7 separate regions of the Homo sapiens genome follow, and all the other regions are linked to region 3. Evidence: promoter capture Hi-C in 16 types of primary human blood cells and fetal thymus (Javierre and others, 2016). All regions are on one chromosome and are shown on one strand. Each heading gives the region's core, a stretch centred on a gene start or on the middle of the fragment in contact. The rest is flanking DNA. Distances are from core to core; before and after follow the strand shown.

The links. The method cuts DNA at HindIII sites, captures the fragments that hold promoters and counts their contacts. A CHiCAGO score of 5 or more calls a contact.
Region 1: a contact is called between a fragment that was not itself captured here and the fragment with the promoter of STPG2 in region 3, in 1 of 17 cell types (neutrophils). The highest score is 5.3, in neutrophils.
Region 2: a contact is called between a fragment that was not itself captured here and the fragment with the promoter of STPG2 in region 3, in 1 of 17 cell types (neutrophils). The highest score is 5.9, in neutrophils.
Region 4: a contact is called between a fragment that was not itself captured here and the fragment with the promoter of STPG2 in region 3, in 1 of 17 cell types (monocytes). The highest score is 7.3, in monocytes.
Region 5: a contact is called between a fragment that was not itself captured here and the fragment with the promoter of STPG2 in region 3, in 1 of 17 cell types (neutrophils). The highest score is 7.0, in neutrophils.
Region 6: a fragment that was not itself captured here is called in contact with the fragment with the promoter of STPG2 in region 3 in 13 of 17 cell types (naive CD4 T cells, M2 macrophages, naive B cells and 10 more); the score reaches 11.5 in naive CD4 T cells.
Region 7: a contact is called between the fragment with the promoter of DNAJB14 here and the fragment with the promoter of STPG2 in region 3, in 6 of 17 cell types (neutrophils, monocytes, total CD8 T cells and 3 more). The highest score is 12.9, in neutrophils.

What each region holds. Positions count from the first base shown.
Region 1 is chr4:99,842,744-99,845,443 of GRCh38, forward strand. All of the region lies in intron 3 of DAPP1 (dual adaptor of phosphotyrosine and 3-phosphoinositides 1), which reads left to right. Among named protein-coding and RNA genes, the nearest start is that of DAPP1, 27 kb to the left of the region's middle. The HindIII fragment of the contact is 3,832 bases long and covers 1-2,700 here.
Region 2 is chr4:99,570,581-99,573,280 of GRCh38, forward strand. It overlaps a transcript of MTTP not described here. Among named protein-coding and RNA genes, the nearest start is that of MTTP, 2.9 kb to the right of the region's middle. The HindIII fragment of the contact is 9,913 bases long and covers 1-2,700 here.
Region 3 is chr4:98,142,046-98,144,829 of GRCh38, forward strand. It overlaps STPG2 (sperm tail PG-rich repeat containing 2), which reads right to left and starts at 1,431. Exons shown (of 11, transcript NM_174952.3): 1 at 997-1,431. The coding sequence starts at 1,105. RefSeq lists an enhancer at 1,158-1,257. The HindIII fragment of the contact is 14,460 bases long and covers 1-2,784 here.
Region 4 is chr4:99,895,228-99,897,987 of GRCh38, forward strand. DNAJB14 (DnaJ heat shock protein family (Hsp40) member B14) reads right to left here. Exons shown (of 8, transcript NM_001031723.4): 8 at 1,021-2,760. Among named protein-coding and RNA genes, the nearest start is that of LAMTOR3, 2.2 kb to the left of the region's middle. The HindIII fragment of the contact is 2,445 bases long and covers 149-2,593 here.
Region 5 is chr4:99,825,018-99,827,717 of GRCh38, forward strand. All of the region lies in intron 1 of DAPP1 (dual adaptor of phosphotyrosine and 3-phosphoinositides 1), which reads left to right. Among named protein-coding and RNA genes, the nearest start is that of DAPP1, 9.5 kb to the left of the region's middle. The HindIII fragment of the contact is 3,328 bases long and covers 1-2,700 here.
Region 6 is chr4:99,407,069-99,409,845 of GRCh38, forward strand. No RefSeq gene overlaps it. Among named protein-coding and RNA genes, the nearest start is that of ADH7, 27 kb to the right of the region's middle. RefSeq lists an enhancer at 1-2,777 and a cis regulatory region at 1,318-1,659. The HindIII fragment of the contact is 3,083 bases long and covers 1-2,777 here.
Region 7 is chr4:99,945,154-99,947,938 of GRCh38, forward strand. DNAJB14 (DnaJ heat shock protein family (Hsp40) member B14) reads right to left here and starts at 1,465. Exons shown (of 8, transcript NM_001031723.4): 1 at 1,286-1,465. The coding sequence starts at 1,418. RefSeq lists an enhancer at 849-898 and a silencer at 1,069-1,728. The HindIII fragment of the contact is 11,087 bases long and covers 1-2,785 here.

The DNA of each region.
Region 1 (2,700 bases), core at 88-2,587, 1.7 Mb after region 3:
CTTCTTGTTCATTTAAGCATGGGCTCCTAGTATTGGCTCCCAGTGATCAGAAGATCTTCAGGCTAACGATTTCATGTTCACCTTCAGATGAAGTACAGATATTTCTTTCTTTTTTTTTTTTTTTTTGAGACGGAGTCTCGCTCTGTCGCCCAGGCTGGAGTGCAGTGGCGCGATCTCGGCCCACTGCAAGCTCCGCCTCCCGGGTTCACGCCAGAAGTACAGATATTTCTTATAGCTTATGTTTGATTAACATCACCAGGAAAAGCATTTGTCCACACAATGGACAAGCCCCTCCCAGGGCTCTCAACTTCAGATTACCAGAATGACAAGGACTAGAATTGGATATTTCAGGCCACTGCTCTCAGCCAGACCCCACCCAGGCCCAGCCTCACCCTGCAGGGTCTAGAGGGTAAGTTTATTAAAGAGTGACTTTCTTATAATACATTTATCTACTGGCACAAGTGGTATTACCTTTGAGGGCAACAGAAATGATATCCAAATAGCCAAAACTTTACACTTTTGCCTTGCAGTTATATATAATGCCTTCAGTAGAGTGAAACCCAGAATATTTGATTTTGGGTCGTAAGAACATTTTTGCACTCAAAATAGATAAAAGTGTTGACCTAAGGGGATTAATGCTATTTTAAGATATCTTTTTTTTCTATTCCCTACTCTTTACACTTTTAGGATTTCTGTTTGCTAATCTGAAAAGCAAGGATTTCCTAAGCAACATCTAAGCCTCTTGACAACTTTAAGAGTATTTTATGATAATTTCCCTTTCCCTTGCCATAATCTCTATTTCATCTCTCTAATCTCCATTAAAGTTTCTGTTCACTCTAATTTCTTTTTATCAATACCCATAAACACTCTTAAGATACTTCCAATTCTCAAAACCTAATAATTTCCCAAGTACATGATAGAGATATACAATGTACTCTCTTGCTTTATTTTTCTCAATGGCCCTTTTACCTTCTGACATCTATAATTCACTTATGTTTTTTAAAAAAATACCTTTTTTTCCACACTAGTGTGTGAACTCCATGAAGAAAGGGACTTTTGTCAGCTTTGCTTCCTGCTATGTCCCAGGACCTGAAAAAATAAGTACTGATCATTTCCACAATATGTCATGCTGGATGCCCCATTTCCAATGCCTGCATTGCAGTTTTTTGCATGGCAACATCAAAACTAGCAAACTTGTGACAATTTTAACTTTCAAAGTTTATAAAAACATAATTTGAAATGATATTTTGTGTTGCATGTATGCTCAGTGATGATTAAATTCAGAATTTGCCTTTCATTTGTGATAGTGTTGCAGGACTTTTCCTTAGTTCAGCTAAAGATCGGGTCCCTCTCCATCCCACGGCCACAAAAATTTAGGCTCGCAGACGGTTTGAAGGGTGAGTGAAGCAGGGTTTTATTGGATGAAAAGAAAGAAAAGAGGGAAACAGGGAAGCTAGAGCGCTTCCTGCCCAGCAGTTTGAATTCTATGTTCCTCACAGGAAGAGGAGGGGCCAGGCTCCTCCCCACTGCAAAGGACACGAACTTCCTAAGGCTTCACCTCAGTGGGCAGGCCGGTTGGAGTTTTTCTGTCTCAATAGTAGGATATCAAATAAAACATATTCATGTCTGTGCATGAACTCTAAACTAAACTCAAATAGACTTGAAAATTTGAGAAACTTTTTTATTAGTATAAATATGTTTGGTCCATTATTAATTTTGTCGTAGCCTCTTGTAATTAGCTAAGTTTCATATATATAGTCTTGAAAATGTAGACGGCATTTATCTTTATGCTTAAATGTCTAAATATGATTAGAACAAAAAATTACTTTTACCATTACCTTTTGTTTATGTTTCAATAATTCTTAACATGAAATTGCCATGTATAATTTATTACATTGTATTGTGACTGTAATCACCTAACAGGCATGAAAAAATATAATACAAGTCAAGTTCTATGTTTGTGCTTACCCTTTATAATAATTGGTTCCCAATTTTAAAGATCTCATCTGGTTTTTTGGTAAATGTCAAATCTCCATTTCTCTTTTTGTTTTGATATGGGGATTCCCAATCTTTTGACGACAGCTACCGCTATTATTATTTTGTTTTGTGACACCACCCAGGTGATATTTTTAAATAATGTGGTTAAAATTAATTTTAATTTGAGAATTGGGTGGTTCTTCAGAAAACAACTAGTGACAACTTAGAATTTTTCCAAACTTCCTTGGATGTTTGCCAAAAATACAAAATGTTCTCAGTTTATAGATGAGTTTTATTCGAAAAAGGAAAAAGCAGCTGAGGAAGGGAATTAAGCCAACATTTTTAGAGTGTTTGCTAGGTTCCAGGCATTCACCTACATCAACTTATTTCATCTCAGCCACCCACAATAATGCATACAACGGTCCTATTTTCAGATGAGGAAAGGAAAACTCAGAGGTTTTAAGTCACTTGCCCAAGTTTTCACTGCTGGTAAACATCAGGGCTGAGATTGGAATCTGGGCTAATCTGGTTCTAAAGCATAGATGCTTTCCATGCACCTTGCTATCTTTTGAAACTGGTCCCACAATAACAGTACATTGTTGCCATGGTACAGTGTGGCCTTAAATGGATTTGGAAGAACTCAGAGCTGAGATTGGAATCTGGGCTAACCTGGTCCTGAAGCATAGATGCTTTCCAGGCACCTTGCTATCTCTTGAAATTGGT
Region 2 (2,700 bases), core at 34-2,533, 1.4 Mb after region 3:
CAAAGATCTTAAATGTCTTAATCTCCAGAACCTGTGATAGTCTAAGTTAAGGTTGTAGATGAAATTAAAGTTACCAATCCACAGACCTCAGGGTAAAAAGATTATCCTGGATTATTTAGGCAGGCCCAGTATAATCACAAGGATTCATAAAACGGAAGAGGGAGACAGAAGAGATGGTCAGAGTGATATGAAGTAAAAAGGATTCAGCTTACTCTTGCTGGATTTGTAAATGCAGGAAGGGACCACGAGTCAAGGAATGCAGGTAGCTTCTAGAAGCTAGAAAAGGTAAGAAACAAATTCTCCCCTAAAGCCTCCAGAAAGGGATACACCTGCCAATACTTTCATTTTATCCCTGTGAGACCAGTGTTAGACTTCTGACCTCCAAGAGTATAAGACAATAAATCTGCTGTTTTAAGCCACTAAGTTTTGTGGTAATTTGTTATGGTAGCTATGGAGAACTGATACAGTGCCTTTCAATAGTTCTTGGAAATTCTTCAAATATATTCCCCAAATATTGCCTTTGCACCACTCACTCTATCCTCTATATCTCTTGACCTCTCTTTAACATTTTTTATTTTCTTATTTTGGTAATTATTTAAAACAATTGGCTTCTTGTTCCACTTCAAATAAATTCATATTTTTATATCTACATATTAAGAATTAGTTCATAAATGTAATTGTTGTATCGTATATACTTTAAAAGGAAAATTGCATTTATACTTGGATATTATTATATTTTAGGTTTTGAAATTTCTTTTTTTAAATGTCTGATAAATTTATTCTGATCAAAATTAAAATCTTATTGTATTTACAGTAGTCTACTAAAAGAGTTTACATCAATTCTCTCCTTTAAATGCTAGCAATTCAGTTTTGTGTGGTCAAAGATAATTTAGAATCCTTTTATGGTAACTGATATGATACAAAGGATTTTTTTGGTTGTTGTCAAATTTGTATGTGCGTATATATGTATAGGGGGTAGAAAATTTGGTTAGTGACTCTATTTTGGAAAAATGAATGTTCTTTTTGGAGTTTTAGATTCCCAGTGTTTCAAACCAAGTTTGCTTTTGATAAGGAATTCAGTGAATCTTTATTTTCTCGTAGAGAATTTTTAAACAATACCTTTCAAAATATTGTATGTATTCCTATATAATTTTGCCTTGGAATAAAAAAAGTCATCACATTAAGAATATTTTTAACTTAAGAAATTTTTTCAAGATTCTTTCAAAATGCTAACTCCCTCATTGATTTGAAAATACTTTTAGAGTTTAAACTATTATGACCATGTAGGGATAACTTAAAGTGTCCTTCTAAATTTTTTTTTCATTAATGTCATGCTTCTTTCTAAGAACAAAGTGTTTCAATGTTATAAACAGACTGTTTTTTCACATAGCTTTCATACATCCTGACTTTCTATATCTAGTAGGGTAATACATTTCCTTCCAACCTTTAGTGGGGTGAAGTTCATTTGTCTTCTAATCTAAGAAAATACGTTAACTCCTGACAACCTCTGACACTCAACAGAAACACAACTGTACTTTGGAATTAATCATCCATCTTTATTTCATAGTCTCCTTATTTATCAATGCAAATGGAAGTATAGCAAATATTTCACAGTGTCATGTACTACCTAAGGAATTTCATTGCAATAGCATTGTTTTGAAATGTATCATTTGATTTTGATCTAACTATCATAGATCAGTTTTACCCCTGTATGTTCAGCCTGAATGTCTAACCACAATTTCACAAAAATCAAGGGCTCTGTTAGTTTTCATACAAAATTGTGATGACTTATTATGAAGACAGTCCCAATTAACAATTGCATGTCATCTGTAAGAAATCAATTTTTTTCTCACTCCCCACCTGTAATTTTTTTTAAGCAAAGAAGAATACTTGGGTCTAGGTTTCAAGGTTTATTTTTCTGTAGTCCTAATATCACTTCAGTAAATTAATCTGAGACTCATTTTTCTAATATGTCAAATGACTGTTGTAAGGATTATTATAAAAACGTAAGGTGATTAACAAAGTATGTAATTGTTCCATAGATGGCAGCTCTTGTTTTTTTACTGTGCTTTGCTTCTGCCCTGCTTCACATATTATGTAAAATAGCTGGTGAGTTTTAGGAGGTAGTGCTCACATGTTTGCACAGTGTTTGCTGTGGACGATCAACAGTAACAGAAGAGCATACTTCTTCGATACACAGAGTTTACTGAATTTGGAAAGGCTTTGGCATTCTTATGTCATCTGTAATGAAACAATCTCCAGAAGTCTTTTCTAAAATGTCCTTGTAAAAAGAAAAAAGTTATGTTTATATTTTATAAAAGGATGATGTTATTTATAACCAGCAGAAGCAGCCTTATTTGAACATCTTATGTTGAAATTGCTACTTAATACAGTGACTCATAGGAGCTTTCTAGTGGAAATCAAATGCTCAAATGAAATAGAATTTAGTTTGTTAGGCAATAGTGATATGTCTTTTATTGGTTGGACTCTGGAAAACACTTGACAACGAATAGTACTTTACCCGAAGGGCACGTATCATGCACCACATAGCCTAACCACAAACATTAAAGGTCTTGTAACTGTGAGCCTCAAATGAAAATACATAAGGACAGCTCTCATACAATCAAATACAATACAAACTAGCTTTTAATTTAAATAAATATGTAAGTAAAGTTCAAGTGACTATAATGATTTTATATC
Region 3 (2,784 bases), core at 181-2,680:
TGTCACAGGGGGTCATTGTTAGCCATTGTTAGGGGAATTAATGCTTATAATGCCCAACTCCATTAAAATAAAGATAGAATAAGCTGCAAGAATAGTGATACCAGATACTGTGAAGCAGTACAATTCAACATGTGAAACACTGACAGAAGTCAAATTTGTACTCCACCCCAAGAAACCTAAACCTTCCCTTATCTGATCAGTTATGTAACAGAATAATGGATCCTGGCATTTGCTTGAAAATACATAGTGTAGGTATGGGGAAAATGTAGGTTAAGAAAAACTATCATTTGGACGGTATTAAGCTCCAGAAAATCACCAGAATAGAAAAAGTAGAAAGCAAAATTGATGTATTTATTTTTGACTAAGTCACTAACTGCAAACAAACGAGGAGAGCAAATATTATTTAAATTATCCATCCCCACTCCACTGGTCAAAAATATAATTTTTCTTTACAGAATGTGGAGAAAAGGGGCTCCCCTGAAGTGTGTTAAAAGAGATGAGGACGGTCAGAAAAATCTGTCTGAAAAAAAAACGGAACTATCTTTAAATAATACTGCAAAATAGAAATATAAGCTACATCTTAATAAATAAATGTCTCTGGTTAATGGGAGGAAAGATGTGAGGCAGGCAGGATTACAAAGCAACGAGACAGCGGGAGGTAAGGGCACAGGATTTGGAGACTCATATATTATGTCAACACAGCCAGGAAATCAAAATCCTAGACCTAAACTGCACAATCAAAAGTAGGATGTAGACAACTATTGCGGAATCAAAAGTCCTAGCCATATGCTCACCAGCCTTTTGAAATGGGACAAGTGATACTATCAGTCTCATCTGTAAAATAAAAGTATAGTGTTTTCCCTGCCTACTTCATGTTTTGTTATGTTTACAAAATGGTACTATTCCGCTCTATGTTTAACTCACAAGCACGCAGAAGCGGAGCAGGCTGAAGATAGGATGCCTGTCACAGGAGCTCTGCCTCTTCCTACATCTTACCTGTCGCCTGCTGCTTCAGGAAAGGTACCTGGTAGGATCCAGGACCCACATGGGCCTCAGTGCTGCCACCTTCAGCCAATTTGAGCAGGCGGGGAGCCCGATCATACATAGTGCTCGGGGTGGTGGGGGCGCTGGGGAAGGGCAGGTGCCGAAAACGATAAAAACAAGGTAGCTAGAAGTGTGGAGAAAAAGGAAGCCGACACCAGTCTGAGGAGGCCGGGAAAGAACTTCCGTAAACAGGGAAATTAGGGGTGGGGTTGTCTCCCCGCCCGCTCATTGATACCAGATTTCCTCAAATCGATTTCTAGCTCTGTGGTAAAGTAGAGGGGTGAGCGACTAGAGATTAGACGTCCCACACAATCATCAGTTTGCCAGGTGCACGCCACCAAAATTGGGTATTAGGGATTAGACGCTCGCCCCGGTGCTTCCGGCCCTGACTCCGCCCACTTCTCTCCGCCCGGAAGCCTGGGGAGGAGGCGGGCCCAGTCTCTGGGGAGGAGGCGGGCCCAGTCTCTAGGGAGCGAAGTGGAGGTGCCTTCCTGGGCCGAGCCCTCGGAGCATGCGCACCGAGCAGCCACCCTTTCCCGGCTCTTTTTACCCGGAACCCGGCGCGCCTTGAAGAAGGCAGGCCTAAACCTCGTAGCTCTTGGGGTCCCGGTAACTACTTAGGTCCCGAACTTTTTTAAGTATGCAGAAGAACCTTAGAAAACGCGTTAGGAAGGGTGAGGACTAACTTGACCTTGATCTGCTTCCCGACTCAACAGAACCTAGTAAAGAAAAATGCAGTAGCATGAAGCAGAGAGCTTGGGGTTCCGCAAGCTCTCCCCCGCTTCTACTGCAGCCCCACTCGTACTCACAGAGAAAAGGCACCTCTGATCTTAACCTGTAGATAGTCCAAACTGCTAAGACAAACCCAGGGCTCAGGGCAGTGACAAGAAATGGAGAACCCAGAAAAAAAAATAACAAATAAGATAAGGGTAAAAAAGAAAAAAAAAAAAAAAGAAATGAGGACACCAGGCAAGGAGGCGAAAAGCTCACCAACTGAAGCCGTGGAAGTGACTGAAAGCTGCCTCTTTTGTCGTATGCCAGGTAACCACAATACTGATTCATCAATATTTAAAAAGCAAAGCGAAGGCACTGAAAAAGCCCAGTCCACCCCACCAAACCAATGATTCTGAACCTTGGGCAAAAGAAACCTTGCTTGTCCTTGGGGCTTAAGGAATCTATGTCAGAATCCACCTCTGCATCTCGCAGGCTGTTTTTTCTAGCAAGAATTCTGTCCAGATTATAAATATCCTCAGAGGCTTAGACAAATCCTACCTTGATCATACCTCACCTCCAAATGGTCTACAGTACGTTAATTTGTTCCTACTACAAGTTTTTATAGTTTTCATACTCTGTAATACACGATTTGCCACTCAATCCTGTGCAACATTTACTGTGGCTTCATTGTGCCATATAGGTCGGAACCCTCTCCTTGCGAGGCTATATGCTTCTCAAGGATGTATCTGTAGTACCTTTTTTTCTGTTCAATAGCTAGCTAAATTATTTATGCACTTAAAAAACACGAATTGGCATATACTGTAGGTTCCATCCCTGCTAAGTTATGAGGATACAAAGGCATAAGAAAGTCCCTGCCCTCAGGTGTTCTCTCTCTAATGGGGAAAGAGACGTATAATCCAAAACGAGAGGTGGCAAAGATTTTTTTTAATGGTAGGAAAATGAATATTGCAATATTTTGGAAACATCTCACCAACTTCGATTCTCCCTGCATTCTGTCAGAAACCC
Region 4 (2,760 bases), core at 121-2,620, 1.8 Mb after region 3:
ATTAAGAATTATCCGAACGTGGCGTGCACCAGGTACTCGGGAGGCTGAGGCAGGAGGATCCCTTGAGCCCAGGGTTTGAGGCTGCATCGAGTGGTGATCGCCCCACTGAACTCCAGCTTGTGTGACAGAGCGAGACCCTCAAAAGAAAAGCTTCTTTAGAAATCGCATCCTCTTTCAGCTACCACACTGTTTTTCCTCTACTCCCTTTCATAGCCAAATTTTCAGAAAACTTTAGCCTGGTTTTCAATTGCTGCTTCCATATGTCACAAATCTAATCAGAGTTCTGTTGATTCTACCTCCTATCTTTGAAAACTATTCACCTATCTATATTCCTACCCTACTCCAAGCCATGATCATCTCTCTTTTGACAACAACCTCCTATTCTTCTTACATTCTCTTTTGCCCTCCAGTCTCCACACAGCAACAAAAATGATGTTCTAAAGACCCAAATCACATCATTTAACTCCTTCCTTGAAAATCAAGTTTATTGACTTAGGATAAAGTTCAATATCAGCATCATGGTTTATATATCATTCTTATGGGGATCTGGCCCCTATCTTAATTCTCTCACCTACCCTGGATTCCTTATGCTATGATCATACAAGTTTGTTTTCACTTCCATAAAGATTTTTATCACTTTACCAACTTAGCACGTTCTGCCTGAGATATTTCTCTAGCATACCTTAATCCTACTAATCTCATCTTTTGCATTTTGGCTTAAACTCACTCTCAGAGAAGCCTTCCCTGACCCTCACTGAATAGTTTAGGTCTTCTAGATAAATGCTTTCATTGTACCCTGTAATTTTCTTTGTAGAATTTATCATAATTATAATTATTTACTTGATATTTATTTTCTTTGCTAGATGTAAACTCTTTAAGGTTTTTGTCTTTCTTATTCAGTGATTAATTCCCAGCACCCAGCTCACTGCCTGGGATATAGCAAGCATTGACATACTTGTTGAATAGTTGAATGAATGAAAGAGTGGCCATATTGAGTATAAAACATGATAAAAACAAACATTTTACAGTGAGAACAGACCTTTTTATTAATATATTGAGATAAACTACAGAGACTGAAAGACAAAAATTCATATTTCATTCAGAACATTCATTAAAAATCAAATGCATTTGAGTTCTCACAGAAAATTTTATGTAAGTCTGATATAACATTAAATATTTTACAAATCAGACATTTCATTTTGAAATCTAATTTTTAATCCTGAATGCATTATAGACAAAGTAAGCTCTCCTTTACCAATTTCATTTAACTTATACAAGGCTTCCATTATAATTCCATCAAACCTTAAAAATTACCTGCAGCTTTTAAAAACACATAAAGTAAATGGAAAGAAAGTCTTATGTAGCAATCCAAAAACTAAAACTAGAAATTGGCAAGAAGCATTTCTTAATACAGATAAACTGCAAAATATCATTTATGTGTGTTTCTTCTCATTGGTTTAATCATCCTATTAAAAATAATTTTTTGAAAGTAATAATTACAATACTCCAATGTCACTGAAAATCTCTATGATTTTAATGGTGTCCTTAAATGGCAAAGTAGAATATCAGACTGAAATGTACAGAGTGTTGTGCTGAAGTGAATGAGACTTGCCATGCCAGGTGTCATCTGCTATGCAGTTACAAGACATCTTGGCAACTAGTCATCCCAGTTTTTACTAACTTACTAAACAAGGACATTTCAAGAAATACTTCTTACCCCTATGTATTTCCAGATGGCTGGATATAGAAAGATATAATTATGTTTGAAGCATGGGCCTTATAATAGGAATCTCTCCATTAAAATATGAAAAAGAGCAACAAATAATTCACACCAATGAAATTGTGTTGACTGATTTTCAAAGTCAGACATAAAAATATCCACTGCTAATGGAAGCCCTGCTCTGTGCAAACATAGTGTGGTATATATTAAACAATCACACATTTGAGGTAATTAGCTGGGAAAAAAAAAAAAAAATATATATATATATATATACACCTATACATAGACACATCCACAGAATATTCACAAATCTATTGGCCCCAACACCAGCAGATAGTCATATTAAATGAAAAATATCACATACCAACAGGAAAAAGTTACACATAGGGAATATACAAAAAATATGGTGCTATAATCCTTAATATAAGGAGTATGTTTTGAATTAATGTTTTGAGGAAAAGTGTTTCCATTTATATGAAAGTATCTATTTAATAGTAATAAAACCAAAAAGGAAGCTGAATTCTAGGACTGTTTTACCTGCCAAATAATTGAAGGGATGAGCAAGAATTCCTTGAAAAGCCTCATTCTATCCTTTTTCTTTGTAACTAAAAATTAGAATTTAAAATGTTGGAAATTATTGCCAGACAAGTTTCTTTTCATTGGTTTATAGGGAATTTTATGGATTTTAACTAGGCAATGGTCCAATGTGGTCAACAGACATGGTTTTTCAGCTGTTGAATGAAAATTAAAATAAAGATTTATTGTTGATTTTCATTAGTTTTTCTGTTCAGATAAGAAAAAAGATTATGAATTCCCTTTCAGTTTGCTTCACTCATTATGAAGATGGATAGTAATAGGATAGTACTGAACCCAAGCTTCACATGGGGAAGCTCAAGAAATGTACAAATTCTCTTCTTAACCATTTGGTCCTCTGATATAAAACTTGCTTAACTGGCAAGATGGCTCACTTGGTCCTCAAGCCAACATCAAGAAATATTTAGCTGTCTTAACACAGGTGGGAGACTTTTTTTTAATGAAAT
Region 5 (2,700 bases), core at 120-2,619, 1.7 Mb after region 3:
GTCCATCTCTGAGTCAGGCTCTGTGGATTTTTCTTTATCTTTAAAGACATCTTTATCTTTCATTGTTTTCTCTGCCCCTGTCTCCTGGATCACTCTTTGGGTCTGCATGTGCATTCCCTAAGTCTCTGTCCCCATGTGCTTCTGGCTATCTGTGTGAGCTGGCGAGTCTATCTTGGTCTCTTGAGTTTTGTGTCTCTATCTTTCTATCCGTCTGTCTGCAGCTCTTTGACTTTTGTGTCTCTGAGACTTTGTGCCACTCTGTCTCTGAATCTCTGAGTCTCCATGTCTGTCTGTCTCTGTGTTTTCGTCTTCCAGAGCTTCTTGCATCATTTCTCAGACTTCTTCAAGAACAGGTTCATCCTGATCTCAAACTCCTACAGAATTCTCTCCTCCCTTTCAGTTTTGATTTCCATTAGCTGAGCCTTGACTCCCACCAAAAAACTTGGGACCTGCCTTTAACTCACAGATCAATGAGATATTTGCATGCTCCGCCTCTGTCATCACTCAGGTCTGTTTTCTAAAGCCTGGGGCAGCTGGTCTCACCATTTAGCTCTGCTCTTAGCTCATGTAAACATGGGCATTTAGAAAAGCAATTTTGAAAGATACAGCCCTGCTGGTTCCATCACAGAAACGTCTCTATTGGAGAGACTCTAGAGAATCTTTCTTTGGCCTCCCCTGTATATCACACTACACCTGTCTGAGACCATGTAAGAACTTCCAAAATCCTTTATAAGGCTTCGGCTTGATTCCCTCTATTTGAACAGGGTCCATTGCTATTATCAATGGAAAAATAAGCCCACACTTGTGAACATGTGACTTAATGGGCTTGTGTGGGCAACACCATCTTTCTTAGATATGTCACAACCTGATTCTAATATAAATTACAGCACTGGTAGCTCTTGAGTTACATAAGACACCCTAAACCCATGATTTCTAATGGCATAGAGGGCCAAACACTTTACCTTTCACAAAATCAAAGTATCTAGCACCGACCCTATGAACAAATGAGCATGAATGAAATCAGCAGCCAAGGAATCCCATGGAATAGTTCAAGTGGTAAGAACAGATTAAACCTTAGAGTGTGAACGCCTAATAGATTCATCTTTGTTCTATCACTGTTGTGTTCAGAAAGATTGTGAGGCTAAGTATAGGCTCAGCAAGAAAGACACATCAATTAGCTGTGCCATGTATGAACTTAGAGAAGGGGTGTGGCACATATGTTATGCATTTGTCATCTTTGGTCTAGATAGTTCAGAGGGGTGTCAGTGTCATATAAAAGTGAGAACAACTTTGAAAATGAAATAAGAGAAAATTTTCTAAAGAAGAATGCTTTTGTTGGCTGTTCAACTCCAGGGCATTTTGGCTGTTTTAACACAATCAGGAGTTTTTTTCCCACTTTGCGTTGAAATATATGTCCTCTTTATAACTCTGATGAAACAGAATTGAGGTTCTATTTCATGTATCTTTTCCAGGCAGGGAAAAATATATCATTAAATATGTGAATAATCTGTAGACATGAGTTACTAAGACATTTTGTCATCAAGAAATATACTATCTAAATGGATGTGTGGCATGTGTTTTAAAGTGCAAGATTGCTTTCTGTGTCCACCAGTTCTTCCAGAATTATTTTGCACCACTTCCCAACAGGGACCCTGTGCTCCAGCTAGGCATTTGGTTGCCCATGCACACCAAGCCCATGTCCACTCCAGTGCCTTTGCTTATGTCATTTCTCCTCTCAGAATGCCTCTCACTGCCTAATGAATCCTATATTCATTCTTCATACTGCAGTTTATCATTCTCCCGCTCCATGAAGTTTTCCCTGATCATTCCAGCCCACTGTGAGCTCCCCTTCCTATGCTATAATATTTACTGTCCATATCACTAAGATAGCAGCTATTTGGTGATTCTTCTATGTTAACCTGCAGATCCTTCTCTTTTCCATTCTGTTGGTACTGAAAAGTCACTTAGTACTTTGCTTTGCCCTTCTCTTCAAATGCCAAATTCTGTGAACTCAAACTGTTCACATTATTGAAGTGAATTAAAGTTTTCAGGCCCAAGAGTCCTTCCCATACATGCTCCTCAAACTCTAAAGTGCATAACAATCACGTGGGACTTAGCAGGTTGAGGGAGGGGCCTGAGGTTGTGTGTGGTCCATGTTGGCTGCTCATTAGCAACTCTTTTCACTTGACACTTCCCAGTAGTAAAAAGTTTCTTATTGCACCTGATTTTAAAACCATCACTCTTGGCTGGGCGCGGTCTGTAATCTCAGCACTTTGGGAGGCTGAGGCGGGCGGATCACGAGGTCAGGAGATCGAGACCATCCTGGCTAACAAGGTGAAACCCCGTCTCTACTAAAAATACAAAAATTAGCCAGGTGTGGTGGTGGGCACTTGTAGTCCCAGCTACTCGGGAGGCTGAGGCAGGAGAATGGCGTGAACCCGGGAGGCAGAGCTTGCAGTGAGCCGAGATCGAGCCACTGCACTCCAGCCTGGGCAACAGAGTCAGACTACGTCTCAAAAAAAAAACAACAAAAAAACAAAACAAAAAACACCATCACACTTATAAGTGCAGATGAAGGAAATGACCTAATTGGAAGTTTTAATCAACAGTAAGTCCAGTGTGAATCAGCTATGTGATGCAATTGTGAAGAAACTAATGCATTCTCGGGCTGCCTTATGTGTGCCCAGCAGCCAGAATAAG
Region 6 (2,777 bases), core at 92-2,591, 1.3 Mb after region 3:
GGTGTTTGGCATTACCTCCATCCTTTTCAGGTGGTGGTCTATTCCCCTCTCTCCTACATGAACAAGAATCTGCTGGGGCTCAAGCAGAGCTGGTCACAATGAACAGAGCATCTCCTCTACATTCTACACATCCTGTCCATGCTGGGACCGTGAGGTATCCTGCTCTAAGGCTTGAAGTGAGAGAATGTGGATGTATTAGTTCATTCTCACACTGCTATAAAGAACTGCCCAAGGATGGGTAATTTATAAAGGAAAGAGATTCAACTGACTCACAGTTCAGCACGGCTTTGGAAACTTACAATCATGGCAGAAGGCAAAGTGGAAACAAGGCACCTTCTTCACAAGGCAGCAGGAAGGAGAAGAGCAAAGAAGGAAGAGCCCTTTATGAAACCATCAGATCTCATGAGAACTCACTCACTATCACGAGAACAGCATGGGGAAACTGTCCCCATGATTCAGTTACCTCCACCTGGTCTGTCCCTTGACATATAGGGATTATGGGGATTATGGGAATTATAATTCAAGATGAGATTTGGGTGGGGACACAAAGCCTAACCATATCAGTGGAGAATGAGTGTGATGCTGCTTTCTCCTTTGCTCTCAAAAATCCTTTATGTATTTAAAGCACAGAGGAAGAGAGTGCTGAATTTAGCATTCCCATGGGTGGGATTGGGGGATTTGAATAAGCCATTCAAATTAATTCCAAGGCCATTCTACAGTAGGCAGGGACATGCATTCGGTGGTTATTGCAGGAATATGGGCAAGAGATAAAGGAATGAACTAGGGCAACAAGCTAGCAGGGAAGAGGAAGAGAGAATTGATTGTTTCAATACTTTTAAGTTTCAAAGGGACAACACCCCAAAGTAGGATTAGAATTCTGCCATACCAAGCATCCTCTAAGCAGATAGGGATAAAATAAGGTTTCCTGATGGTGCTGGGACTGAGGTCCTAGAACCGAGTCCTCTCTTGTTTCTTCCGAGGGATTTCATCTTCGATTAAGCTATCTCTTTTGAGTGTTTCTTTCAAATGTAGCCAAGTGCTTCCTAGAACTTTCAGTGTCTTCCAGGAGAGACTATGTCTATGATTCTAATTTTCTAGAACAAATGCACTAGATAAGTCTCCTAGTTTGAAGCAGCAAATTGCAAGTGCTTTAGCACCTTTTCTTCCTTAGGGAGACACCCCTCAGTCTTCTTTTGGAAGGTAAAGGAAAACCAATAACCAATTTTATGACAATTTCAGAAACCCTCTCAAAACCATAGTAGGTACAGAAAAGTTATTAATAATAAAAAAGAAACCTCATTCTAGTTAGAACCTTTGAGAATGCTATATCAGACTTCAGAAAATAGCTACTGTGAGTTTTAATTGGAGGTAGAGTTGTAATCAAACCCAGGCCTCCTGAATTAGGTCACCACATCACACTTTTGACAAGTTGTAATACACAATCAGAGTACAATATTTGTACTTCCTATTTTTTGGCAGGAAAGTTTGTTTTATAAAAGGCCTTTCTGAATAAATAGTACTAAAATGATGCATGCCAGGTAGTTATGTAACTATGTGGTTCTTTGCCAAAACTTGCATTGAAATTTGTAAAATGCTAGTGAAATTAAAACAACATATCCATTTTTTTTTTCAAATATACCATTGCAAATTCAAGTAAGCCTTATTATTTTTTTAAATTTTACTTTAAGTTCTGGGATACATGTGCAGTACGTACAGGTTTGTTACATAGGTATACATGTGCCATGGTGGTTTGCTCCACCTATCAACCCGTCATCTAGGTTTTAAGCCCCAGATGCATTAGGTATTTGTCCTAATGCTAGTAAACATTAATTAAAATGTTGACTTGAATCTGAAGTGTAAGTCTCATTGGTTTACCAAACAGAAAAATAAATCCAAATTTAAAATTAAAAATTTGACTACCTGAAAGAGCTGTTGCCAAAAACATGCTTTATTATTTCACTCAATTCTTTGGCTAACATGAAGATGCATTTAATGAGCTGGACACGTGACACAGCCAGAAATACATAATCTTCTCAATTCAATTGTTAAATCAGCTAAGAATGTTTGCGTAGTGTCCATTGGGCACAAAACGTTCTATTAATACTAGGTACTGTTTTGAGAAAGAACTTAGAACATAATTCTTATCTTCTGACACTTTACATGTAAAACGGAATGGACTTTCAGTGAAGGCATCCGTCACTTTTCTGTACCCTATAGGGTAACAGACAAAGTCAGATACATGGTGGAAAGAACTACTGGAACCTAAAGCTGGTGGCCTAGGTAATCGAGATTTTCCTTAATGAAGGGAATCTAACTCTGTGAGGGAGTAAGGAATAAAAAAATGGACAAATACCTATGCATGAAGAAGATGAATACTATAAACTAGTTTATGGGGCCTTGGTTAGTTACTTATTACATAAAAATATAAATAATTTTAGATGTAAATAGCAATGAGAAACAAAAAAGAAATTGCTGGTGAAAGAAATCTTTGCAGAGACTGGAGTTGAAGTCGTGGGCAAGAGGGTACTCTTGGGAATGCTATTTCTATATAGTCCTTTTCTTCCTCTAAATTAAAATAATTTCATATCAATTTTGGCACTAATCAAATCACATTATCTTTGGGAAATATACATAAGGAAGCTGATTATTGAGGTAAATGTATAAAAATGTCCACAAGGTTTTAGCATCTTTTTCAGCTTCGTGAACCTAAACAATATCATTAATGTTTTGCAGCAAATACCAGCTACACTGGCCCTTTTATAGTTCCCAACAATAAA
Region 7 (2,785 bases), core at 215-2,714, 1.8 Mb after region 3:
CACTAATGGACTGCACACTTAAAAATAGTTAAGACCGTAAATTTGGCAGGTTTTTAAACCACAACTTAAAAAATTATTAACTCTTTTCTTTCATTTTATTTTCCTGTCCTCATGGGTATAGTGTTAGAAGGCAATGTAATGGAAAGGATAGAGAGAAAAGCAAAGAGCACAGGGCTTCAACGACGTAGAGAAAAAAATTTAAGAGACAACAAAACAAGTGGCCCCATATTTTCATTAATAATTTTCTACAATTAATTGAATCTATCGATAACTTTCTTCTTAACCTGGAAATACTAATGGCAAGGCAACAGTGTAGCGGTTAAAGGCCTTTTCGAGTCTGAAAGTTCAGCTACTATTCTGACTTTGCTACTAATTGTTGTGTGACCTTGGGTAAGATACTTTCATTCATTCGCTAATTCATTCATTAATTATCAGAAAGTCTGTTTCCACGTGGGTAAACCTGGTCAAATGAATCCTGCACCTCTACACAGAATTGTTCTGAGGAATAAATGAAATAATCCATGCAAAATGTTGGGCACAACTATTGGCACTTTGTGCTCAATAAATGTTGGCTATTATTACTCCGAAGCCTATCGAGTAGGAAAATAAATAAGCTGACTTCAACTAAAGGAAACCCAGTACCATATTCCTCAGAGATTTGGTTCGTCGATAATCATGGTGTTATCAAATCAGATACTCTTCAGCAATCATTACTGACTCTTGACCATTCTTGCCGAAAGTGTGCTCTTCTCTTTTAAAGGAACTCTCTCCCAGGGAAAAGCAATGTCATCTCAGGTATTCGATGTTTGCTTTGGGAACAGTTTTCTACAGATCTCAGAAACATGGAATCTGAGATTAGCCACTAGAGTACACCATTCCTCTCACTTCGATAGGGGCCTAGGCCTTATGTAGGACTGAGAATGGGGAGGGAGGGGGCCACATAAACAACACAGATACAAATAAAGCCTCACTGTGGTAAGACGGGACCAGACAAGTCTCCTCCAGGGAGAATGAAACCCGGACATTTAGGACAGCGGAACGCGGAGCCGGCGGGCAGGCGGGTGCAGAGGAACCTCGCGCAGCATTCCCCGAGCCCCAGCCCGGAGCCGGGGCTGGGGCCAGGGCGGGGGTGTGTCGGGATGCTCCCCACCGGGCCTGGGGCTGGGGCTGGCTCAGACAGGCCGGGGGCCCCGCAGGCCTCCAGGAGGGGCCGAGGTGGGGGCAGGGGCGGGCTACGCGGTGGTCTGGGGATTGGGCAGGAAGAGAAGGGACGCTGAGGTCTCACCGCGGGCCGAGGGCAGTGGGTAGAGCTTCTCGGCCTTCTGCAGGAAGCGCTGGGCCTTCTCGCGGTTGCCGGCGTTCAGGGCCTCCCGGGCGATCTCGACACATTTCTCAGCCTCATCCCTGTTCCCCTCCATAGCTTGCTCCTTCTTCCGTTTCCTCCGGCAGCGCAGCTAAGAAGGGCGGAAGCCGCCGCCGCGGAGGAGGCGAGGCGGGACCGGCTGGGGGCGTGCGGCGGCAGCGGGGAGGAGCGCAGGGGACCGCGGCAGCGGCTGCGACGGCCCGGGCGGACGGGCGGGCCTCGCAGCTCCGCCTCCTCACGGCGGCCTCCCCGCCCCCCGCGGGCCCCTAGGGCGCGATCCGCATCCGTCCCGGCCCAGGACCAACCTCCTGGGCCGGGGCGTCCGAGCTGACTCGGTGGTCCGCGCACGGCGCCAGCAGGCTCGAAGCGGACCTGCCCGGGAGGCGGACGATAGCAGCCGGGCTGCCCATCGCGGGGAGGGGTTCCGCCCGGGACCCGATTGCCGGCATTGGTAGCGCCGTGCCCTGTGACCTCCAGGCGAGGCCCTCGCAGCTCAGGCCAGGAGGACAGGGTCCGGGAAGGGGACACTCGTTTTCAGTAAAATTGCCAGGACTTGGAGGTTCCGCCTCTGGGCCCCTCAAGCGAGGGAGGATGCGGTCAGGTGAGGACCAAGGTGTCAGTCCAGTCTCAGCACTTCCGGGACACGTTAGAGCGTCGTTTGAACCTAATCTTAGGGCTTGTATGGCAGCCTTATTTCAGCTACATTTTTTCTGACCCGGATGTCTGGCTATCCAAAGTACAAAGCAGTTTAATTTGTAGCTTGCAACGAGTGGTGCAGATCGACCTTAATCCTGTGTAGCCAAAACAAGGCAGGAATCAGCCCCTCAGGGGCTGCCCTAACGAAAGCAAACTTTTGATTTCACCTTTTCCGTCCCATTTGGATAACATTACCACTTGGAAGTACCGTGTCTTGTTAGTCTTCGCGGTGGGGGTGGGGGGAATGTTTGCTATGTGCAAATTTTTTAAAAAAAAACATGACAAACTGTCAAAATGACCTGCTCAACCCAACCACAAGGTAACAATTTTTACATAATGCTGTGAGCCAAGCTGTTAATTCTGCTAACTACCATAACTCGGTACTTTCAAATAAGAAACCCTGCTTCTCTTCGATAAAATGGAGATAGTATATCCCCAATGATGTTACTGAGTACTTAACAACTTCAGACTTCAAAGCAGGGCCTGGCACGTAGCACTATTATCTTTAAAGTTTAAATTCGGAGTTCATTCTGTGGATATACAGGACATTCCTACCTATTCTCTCCCTCCCCAAGTCCACCATGCTAACAGCATACTAGTGCAGTGCTGTCACACAGCAAGCGAAGCCAATGTACAAACTGAAATGGTCACACTTAGCCTAAGAAACTGACAATCCCACTCCAGCTCCTGCCAACTTTTTAAATTAAAACTTTAGTAGCTCATATA